Regions from separate parts of the Homo sapiens genome. Here region 2 is linked to region 1. The links are contacts of gene promoters, found by promoter capture Hi-C in blood cells and fetal thymus (Javierre and others, 2016). All regions are on one chromosome and are shown on one strand. The core of a region is centred on a gene start or on the middle of the fragment in contact, and the rest is flanking DNA. Distances in the headings are between cores, read along the strand shown.

Evidence for each region. Contacts are between HindIII fragments. The CHiCAGO score rates a contact against its expected background, and 5 or more counts as called.
Region 2: a fragment that was not itself captured here is called in contact with the fragment with the promoter of CASKIN1 in region 1 in 1 of 17 cell types (fetal thymus); the score reaches 5.9 in fetal thymus.

Annotation. Positions count from the first base shown.
Region 1 is chr16:2,194,670-2,199,137 of GRCh38, reverse strand. It overlaps CASKIN1 (CASK interacting protein 1), which reads left to right and starts at 2,533. Exons shown (of 20, transcript NM_020764.4): 1 at 2,533-2,799. The coding sequence starts at 2,706. The HindIII fragment of the contact is 37,961 bases long and covers 1-4,468 here.
Region 2 is chr16:2,455,458-2,459,925 of GRCh38, reverse strand. It overlaps CCNF (cyclin F), which reads right to left. Exons shown (of 17, transcript NM_001761.3): 16 at 4,362-4,468; 17 at 1,072-3,381. The coding sequence ends at 2,906. LOC105371050 (a long non-coding RNA gene) reads left to right here. Exons shown (of 5, transcript NR_188689.1): 1 at 1-12; 2 at 90-213; 3 at 972-1,116; 4 at 2,960-3,092; 5 at 3,341-3,860. Among named protein-coding and RNA genes, the nearest start is that of TEDC2, 2.4 kb to the left of the region's middle. RefSeq lists enhancers at 209-298, 529-1,343. The HindIII fragment of the contact is 2,703 bases long and covers 1-2,612 here.

The DNA.
Region 1 (4,468 bases), core at 1,284-3,783:
TCCTGAGCAGCAATCCACCTGGAGCCTAGGTGCCCCTTCTAGACCACACTCTGAGCACGTAGGACCCTGGAGTTTCCTGCCCAAACAGCCCCAAGCCCACTTCCAGGATCGGCACAGCCCTCTGCCCAGTCTGTCCTCCTGAAGGTGGGCCACGCAGCAGGGTGCCCACCCTAGCTCTGAGGAGCGACTAAGGGGGTGCCTGTTTATGGGGTGTGGACAGTGCTGGAGCTGAGCAGAGAACAGGTGAGGTAGCTACAAACGGGGGCCAGTTCATCACCCGAGGAATCTGAGAATTCTCAATTCGAACTTGGGCTTTCAGGCCATGATGAAGGTATATTTGTCAAGGTAGGAGAATAGAACATACTTAACAGGTGACTGGCGTGATTTGTAGCGTTTAAATATTTGAACATTTGGTGTGTGGGCTTCTGTTTGTGTGTTAAGCACAGGTCAGGGTGGTTTGCCTTAACATGTCCAAAACATAAAAGTAATAGTAATGCCAGCAGCTATCTTATTTTTATTTTTAGTTCTTCCTATGTGCTCTTCACACTGCAAGGTAGCGTAGATACAAAGATGCACAAAACACAGTTGCTGCACAGGCAGAGAGGCCCAAGAATATCACAATATCTACAGCAGCCATTTTTTTGAGCACTTACTAAGTCCTGCCGTGAAATGCTTTGTGGATAGTATCACAATTTATCCTCCAGTAACCTAAGGGGAGGTAGCATGCATATCCTCATTTTACAGAGGGGCACAGACACTTAGGCAGTGGGCTGGGTGTGGTAGCTCACGTCTGCAATCCCAGCACTTTGGGAGGTTGAGGTGGGAGGACTGCTTGAGGCCAGGAGTTCGAGACCAGTCTAGGTAACATACTGAGACCTCATCTCTATTAAAAATCAAAAAAAATTAGCCGGGCGCTACTCAGGAGGCTGAGGCGGGAGGACTGCTTGAGCCTGGGATGTTGAGGCTGCAGTGAGCTATGATGGCGTCACTGCACCCCAGCCTGGACGACAGAGCGAGACCCTGTCTCAGAAAAAAGAATGACAAAGTGACCAGCTCATGGTCACAAACCACTAAGAGGGGGAATAGGACACATCCAGAGGTGCGGGTGCAAAGCCCAGACTTACAACCTCAAGACTCTGGGACCCCAGGTGAGCCCCTTGGCTTCTCTGAGCCTCAGTTTCTTCATCTGTAAAATGGGGACAGTGAGTCCAACCTCATCTAGGAGGTGACCAGCACAGTGCCTGACCCAGCGGGTACTCAACTGGTCATTGGAAAGGGCAAGAGGAAAGGCCCTAGCATTTGGGGACCCCTCCCAGGAGTGCTGGAAGACCAAGGGCTGCTACCTGAACCTAACAGGAGACCCCACGGAGGGAACGGGAACGGCCAGCTGCCCACAGGATGCCGGGACCCCGGTGCCTGTCACCTTCCCTGTCCCTGCTGTCTGACCTCCTCTGTCCCCCTGGACCTGCTCAATGGTCTGGGGCCACACAGAGTGGGGTGCCAGGCCATGCCTCATAGAATGGGTGCGACCCTCCCCAAATTCTCCAAACGGCCTTGCCCGCTTGGGTGATGAGGGAAACGGAGCCTGAGTCGGGACTCAGACCCCCACTGATCTGCCTCTAGAATGCTGCAGGCCTGACGGGAGAGGGCCTGAGGCGCAGGGTGGCCCAAGCCTTCAGCCAGGAGCTCAGAGGGTCACAAGTCGGGGCCTCCAGCACCCAGGAAGCAGGACTCGCCTGCCTGGGCTGCAGGCTGGAGAGTGGGCAGACGTGGGCCGGGGGTCGGTTGGTGCCGGCGGGAGGTTCCAGCCCCTGTGGATGGAGATGGAGGCGACCCCCAGTCGGTGCGGGGAGTGGGGAGTTGAGCTCCCTCAGTGGGGGTGGTGGGGGCTACCTTGGGGTCAGGCTTCGGACTGAGGCTGGGGGAAGCTGTGGCGCCCGCATTATTTGCGGAGAGGAGCAGGAGGATGCTTGGGGGTTGGGGGTGCGGGTTCCCTGACACCGAATTCATTATTGGGAGATTCCTCTTCACAATCCCTCGACACCTCCCACGGGAACCCTGGGCCAGGAACGCCTGACAGCCTGGCGGGCCGGCTCCAGGGGCACTGGCGCCCGGGTCTCTCGGCGCCCGGTCCCCGCCCGCCCGCTGCCTCGGAACCGTCCCCCGCGGGTCCCGCAGCCTCTGGAAGCCTCTCTGGGCTCAGCCCCGCGCCGCCGCCGCGTCGGGGCTCCCAGTGCACCCCCGGCGGCCGCGTCCCCAGCCCGGCTAGCAGCCCCAGGCCGCCCGCGTCCGCAGAGGCCTGGCCTGAGCGCGCTGCGCGCACGTGGGGAGGGGGCGTCCCGGGGCGGGCGCGGGGAGGGCGGAGCCACGGGCCCGGGCGCGCGGCCGGCGCGGGCTGACGGAGGTCGGCGGCCCGGGAGCGGACCCCGGCGTCCGGGAGGCGGCGCCAGGTGCCGCGCCCCCGCCCCGCGCCCGCCGCGCGCCCCCGCCCCCGGGCCGCCCCCCGCCCGTGACGCGCTCCCCGCCCCCTCCGCGCCGGGAGCCCGAGCCCAAGCCGGAGCCCGAGGAGGGCGAAGGGGCGGCGGGCGGCGAGGAGGCGGCGGGGGAGGCGGCGGGGGAGGCGGCCGGTGCCGCGGGGCCGCCGCCGCCTCTGAGCCGCGCCGAGCTCACGAGCGCAGCCGCGTCGCTGCGGCCCCGGCCGCGCCATGGGGAAGGAGCAGGAGCTGGTGCAGGCGGTGAAGGCGGAGGACGTAGGGACCGCGCAGAGGCTGCTGCAGAGGCCGCGGCCCGGGAAGGCCAGTGAGTGCCGGGGGCGCGGGGCGCGGGTGGGAGCCCCGGGGGCCCCTCCCCGGCGCGGAGCCCCCCACCCGGCGCCGGGCGGGGAGGGGACGTTGTCGGGTCCCCGGGGGCGGGGCGGGGCCAGCAGCGCCCAGACCCTTGGTCCGTGCCCTCCACCCGCTGCCCCCAGCACTGGAGATGGGGCGGCCCCGAGAGCCGGCCGCCACCGTGAGCCCCGCAGCGGGCACCTGGCGGCACCCGCCTCCCGGGCCGCGGGCGTTCGCATCCCTCTCTCTCTACCTCTGTCCCCCTCCCTTCCCAGGCTGCGGGCTGACAGCTGGAGGTCTCTGCTGGGGCCTTCAAAGGGCGAGGCGGATGCCCCCCCCACCCACCACACGCACCGGGAAGACAGGGAGGGGGCCCCTGCGGCGAGGGGCGACCCGGGAGGTGACAGTCCCTAGCAGACCCCCTCCCGCCCCACGTTTAATAACACGCTTTGCAGGGAAGGTGGGGGCAGGACCACGCTGGGGGTGTGGCTGCCCTGGCATGGCCGGTGGGGTGCCATTTACTGATGGGAGAGCAGAGGCCCAAGGTCGCCCAGCCCAGGGCAGGCTGGACTCCAGGCAGGGCCGGCCTGGGCGCAAGGGCTTGGGGCCCTGCTCAGGCAGGCTCCAGCAGAGCCGGGTCTCCAGCTTCCCTGCTGGGAAAGGAGGCCATGAGGGAGTGGGGGACCACCACTGGCCATCCCCAGCTTGCCCTATGGCCGGCCCCAGGAAAGGGCTGGGAGCTTGGAGCCCTGGTCCCAGCACTCATCCTGGCTCAGCGCGTAGCCTCCCTGGGGGCCGCCGGAGATGGATGGATGGGCGTGTGGACCAGCCGCGTGTGCGGCTGCGCACGTATAGCCGTGTCAGTGTGTCAGGGCACCTGTGCGGGCACGGACAGGGCTCTGCAGGTCGGCACGTGGGGTCTGGGCGTCCTCCCTCCTCCCTCCACCCCCACAGACTGTAAGCCAGAGAGTCCCCCTCCCCTTCCTCCAGGGGGATGCCGAGAACTGGGACTGGCTTCTGGGAGATTGTTGGGGGCACCTAGGAGTCCCAGGAGGACCCCCTCCCCCGTACTTCACCAGCAGCCCATGACTGGCTAGCTCCTGTCCACTCTGTGCAGTAAGAGAGAGGGGGCACCGGTGCCTTGCAGGCTGGCCCCGAGCTGATTTCAGGTCCGGGGGCTCAGAAAGGGAGAGCTTGTGGGCAGAGGCAGCCTCAGCTGAGCCTGGAGAGCAGGTGTAGGGATTGAGGGAAGGCAAGGTAAAGGTTTCCACCTAGTGGCCGCATGACCTTGGACACAGACAACTCCAGCTCAGTGGACCTCAGTCTCCTCGTCTGTAGGATGGGATGTCAGCCTCACGGTGGGGTCCTAAGACCAGTGAGCCTGGGCACTTGCAGCCCAGGCATTCAGTAAGTGCTCAGTAAATGCCAGCAATGACCGCAGTCTTGGACGGCCCAGGGCCAGGGGCTGGGGAAGTGGGGGCTTCAGCTCTGGGGAGGTTCCTCCTCCCTTCTATTGTGGCCATTCTGGGGAGGTGTGGGGGCTTCCACTCTCACCTGGGTCTCTGCCTGTCTTGCCTGGCCTCTGGGACAGGAGAGACACCTGCCCTGGCCCCGGCTCCTGCTCTCTGACTCACAGGGGCGGG
Region 2 (4,468 bases), core at 12-2,511, 260 kb before region 1:
GCCGCCAGGGAGGTGACTGCGGGCGACGCCGGGATTTTGGTTTGGGTAACTGGGTAGATGGGGGCGCCATTATCGCGCTTCTCTTGCAGGGGGCCGGTGAAGGTTATACGAGAGGCTCCATCTGTCCTTATTGAAAGTGCTCTTAACGCAGGGACCAGCCGTCTTGCTGACGCCTGGGCCACCGAGCACAGGGACAGGACGGGGTTGCTGGAGGTGAGGATTCCGCGTGTCAGGGGCGGGGATGAAGGAGGAGAAAGTGTTCACTTTTGGACATGTGACGTGATAGCACTGGGCAGAGGGGAGGAAGCTCAGACCTTGGAGCAGTGGGCCAGGCGAGGTGGCCCCTGGTGGGGCAGGGGACGGGTAGGGACAGATCACGGGGCCCACGCAATGGCCAGGGAGGTGGAGGAGCAGTAGGACAGTGTCACAGAGGCAACAGGAGGCTGTCACGGGAGGGAGTGGGTCACAGGCCAAGTGCTGCTGAGGCCTCGGCGGTGTACACAGCACAGCAGGGGGGCGGGGGTACAGGGCCTTCGGTGATGCGGGGGACACCTGAGGGAGGAAGTGAGGAAGGCAGCAGGGCCCCATGTAGTTGGTGTTAACAAGAATAAACAATTAGGGGGCAAGAAATCCCAGGCGGTAGCTGAAAGAAAAACAGAGCCTGGGGTTGCTGTTTAAAGATGGGACAGGTGAGTCCATTCCATAGTCGTTAATGGGAAGGTGCCATCGCAGAGGGGAAGGAGGGCACAAAGGGAGTTGTCAGGGAGGTTGGGACCCAGGCAGCTCTGGCCCAGCGCTCCGGGTGGGCCCCTCCATCAGCGGTGGGGGAGGGTGACGGTGGCCCTGCCTCCCTGGAGATTCTCTGTGAAGGAGGAGGCAGGGAAATGCTCAGTCAGCAGGTGGGTGATGCAGGAACCCACCCACCACAGGCAGGCGGGGCCAGGTCCCCCTGGAGTGGTTTCCTCCTTCAGGTGCAAGCTGGGAGAAAGCAGAGAACTGACTCCATGCAGAGTTGGGATTAAGAGCCCCTGGACAAGGGGCCGAGGCAGTGAAGGACGTCCATCACTCATCTGCCACTATCCTCCTCACATTTAATCCTCACAACACCCCTGTGAGGTAGGTATCATTGCCCCCCTTACAGATGAGGAAACTGAGGCTCACACATGCCCAGGGGCACACAGTCGACAGGACGGGTCTACAGTTCCAACGCTTGGGTTCTCACCCCGACCACACCCCACCCAGGGTGGCCAGAATTCCCTTATAGTAGCAAAAAGACAGCTGCCGCGGACATGAACACACATAGCACCAGCACACATAAAAGCAGCAGCTCAGTGAGCATCTCCCATCCCTGGGTTTCCGGTTCAAGAGCATTTGGGGGCCAGGCGCCGTGGCTCATGCCTGTAATCCCAGCACTTTGGGAGACCGAAGTGGGCGGATCACTTGAGGTCATGAGTTCGAGACTAGCCTGGCCAACATGGTGAAATCCCGTCTCTACCGAAAATACAAAAATTAGCTGGGCGTGGTTGGGTGCTTGTAATCCCAGCTACCCAGGAGGCTGAGGCAGGAGTATCCGGGAGGCGGAGGTTACAGTGAGTTGAGAGTTGAGATCATGCCACTGCACTCCAGCCGGGGAGACAAGAGCAAAACTGTCTCCAAAAAAAAAAAAAAAAAAGCATCTGGGGGACACTTCTGGCCAAGTGGTTCTTTCTTACATTTGCAGAGTAAACAGAAGTGGATGGCAGCAGGGTGTGTTGTGGTCAGCCCGTTCCCAGGGAGAGGCCATGGTCACATGGCCCCAGGCAGGCTCCCCAGGCGTGGGCTGCTGGCTCCCAGGCTCCCTTTCCATGCAGGAGCAGAGTCTCCGTGGCCAGCAGGAAAGCCCAGGGGTCTGCCTCCCTCCCACGGGCCCCCACAGCAGAGCTGCAGTTGGGATCAGCCAGGACACGGCCCCCGACTGCTCTGCTCTTCTGCCTCTTGGTCACCTCAGATGTTACAGAGGACTTGAAGTTTTTTCTGGCTAGCCTATCTGGGAAAATTCTTTTTGCATAAAGTGTGTCAGGATGGCATTGAGGGGCTGGAGTAAGATTTTTGTTTTGCAGGTGAACCTAAATAATGGTGGGAATCTCTTGTTTTTTTAATACCTTCTGTTTTAAGTTTTTCTTTTGTTTTCATCTTGGAAGAAGGAAATTTAGAAATAAGACAGGAAAAGAATGGCCCAGAAATTCAGCACAAAGAGAGGTGTTCACATTGACGCCATCTGTGGGTCACATACGAACGCCTCTGGGACAGAGCTCTAAAACGAGTCACGTGTCGTAGGGAGTGGGCCTGTGGCCAAGGCAGTCCTCGCAGTGTGCAGGGACGCAGGCCCCCTTACCATGGAAGCCCCACCCAGAAGGAAGTGGGTGCCCCATGCAGGCCGAGGTGGATGAGGGGACAGTGGTGTGCTCACAGCTGTCAGCTCCCCACTGAAGCCCCAAACCAGCAGATGTGGGCAGGGGCTCAAGTGGTGTCTGACTACCCAGGTCACACGTGCCTTAAGCGTGAAAGCTGTCAGCTCCCGGCACGGGGCTCTGGTGGGGCTGGGAACACCAGGACACACATGGGCTGAAGCTTCCAGAGACAGTGAGACACGGAAGGGACAGAGAGGTGCCCTCCACACAGTGTGGCCAACTGCTTCCAGGCTAAACTTTCCAAAGAGAGGGATCTGAGCTCTTCACCCTCATTTCAACATTCTGATGGCTTGCACGGGACTCCCGCGGAGACAGAAACTTGGTGGCCGCAAGTCATCCTCTCTGCTCTCTGCGCAAAGGCCTCCATGGTCTATGCAGCGTTCCTATGCTATGCTCCCACCCTTCGCCTCCAGCCCCCTCAGTACACATCCACTGCGGCAAATGTGCTGACACACTTACAGCCTCACAAGGCCCAGGTTCATGTCCTCCTCCTCACTGTGTATGCATAGGTTTATCCGCTTCACCTGTTGCTGGGGAACACTGCTCTCCGGGGGACTTGGGGGACGACACTGTAAACATGACTTCCTGGCCTGATGGTGGCAGGGCTGTGTGTGCGAGTCACTGTCCAGGGACAGCACTGAGGTAGGTTGGGGCAGGGCCCCCAAGCCACCGTCCACGGAGCTTGTGGGACTTGCGGTGCTGACGGAGGAGTACCCTGAGGTCGTGACGTCCTTCCCTGGCTCCCGGCTGGTGCGGACCAGGGGTTTGGGTCCAGGGGTTGCAGGGATCTGGGTGTCCAGCGCCAGTGCCTGTGGGTCCTGGGGTCCCTTGTCCTCTGGACAAGCCTCCTCATCACTGGATTCCTGGCAGCAATGCTGTTCTGGGTTCAGGTAGACCACGGTGACATCGAGGATGCCGCTGGGAGCTGTCACTGCAGGAAGGTTGGTGGGGAGGGAAGTCATGTCACACCCAAGCATCAGGGGAGACCCCCTGCCAGGTCAGGACCCTGAAGTCCAGGTCAAGAATCTTCTACCTTGCTACGGTCCCCTGTGTTACCCTCCTGTGGTGAGAAGCGTGGGTGACATGCCTCTTCCAAGTTGGACAGCTGCCCGCCATGACTCCAACAAATGTGGAGATGACAAGTTGGCCATCTAGCTCAAGCCAAGTGGACGCAGAAGCAAGCAACCGGGAAACTGACAGGACTCACACTAACTGGGCTTCTGGCAAGGACCCCGCAGTCTGCCTGGGGTTTGCACAGGGCAGTGATCCCAGCAGGGCAGTGAGGAGTGTCACGTATACCACGTGGGCACACCTCAAACAACATTCTAGAAAGAACGCCCAGGCTACAGTGCAGTGGCATGATCACGGCTCACTGCAGCTCCCACCTCCTGTGCTCAAGAGATCCTCCCACCTCAGCCTCCTGAGTAGCTGGGACCACAGGCGCACGCCACGATGCCCAGCTAATTTTTAAATTTTTTGTCTTGCTGTGTCACCCAGGCTGGTCTTGAACTTCTAGCCTGAAGTGATCCTCCTGCCTCAGCCTCTCAAATTGCTGGGATTACAGGCATGAGACTACAGGCCTAGAAGGATCTCCATGAACTCCAGACAGGGTCTCTGCCTCCCTCATCCTAGTGAGGTCCTCCCAACACGGAATGAGCAGGAGCCGGATAGGTGTGGCCTAAGTCCTCTCATCCCTGTGTGGTGGGAGCAGCTGTGGTCTTTTGGGGGCTCTCCCCTCCTCTCTCCCCATGTCTGGACACACTCCCCGGCGGGGCAGGAGCTGGCCCCACCCCGCACTCTGTGCACATCTTCCTCCCACAGCGCTCGCACAGGGCCGGGTGCCCAGAGGCCCTCGGTGAGAGCCACCCTCTGTGTGATGTCCCTTCTGGTGCACCCTGGCCCCACACTCACCGTCGCCCTCCTTCTCGCCCTCACTCTCCTGGTCGCCTTCATAGCCAGAGCAGCAGTCCAGGCTCCAGTCGAGGAAGCTGCCCAGCAGCGTCTCCTCCTGGCTGGAC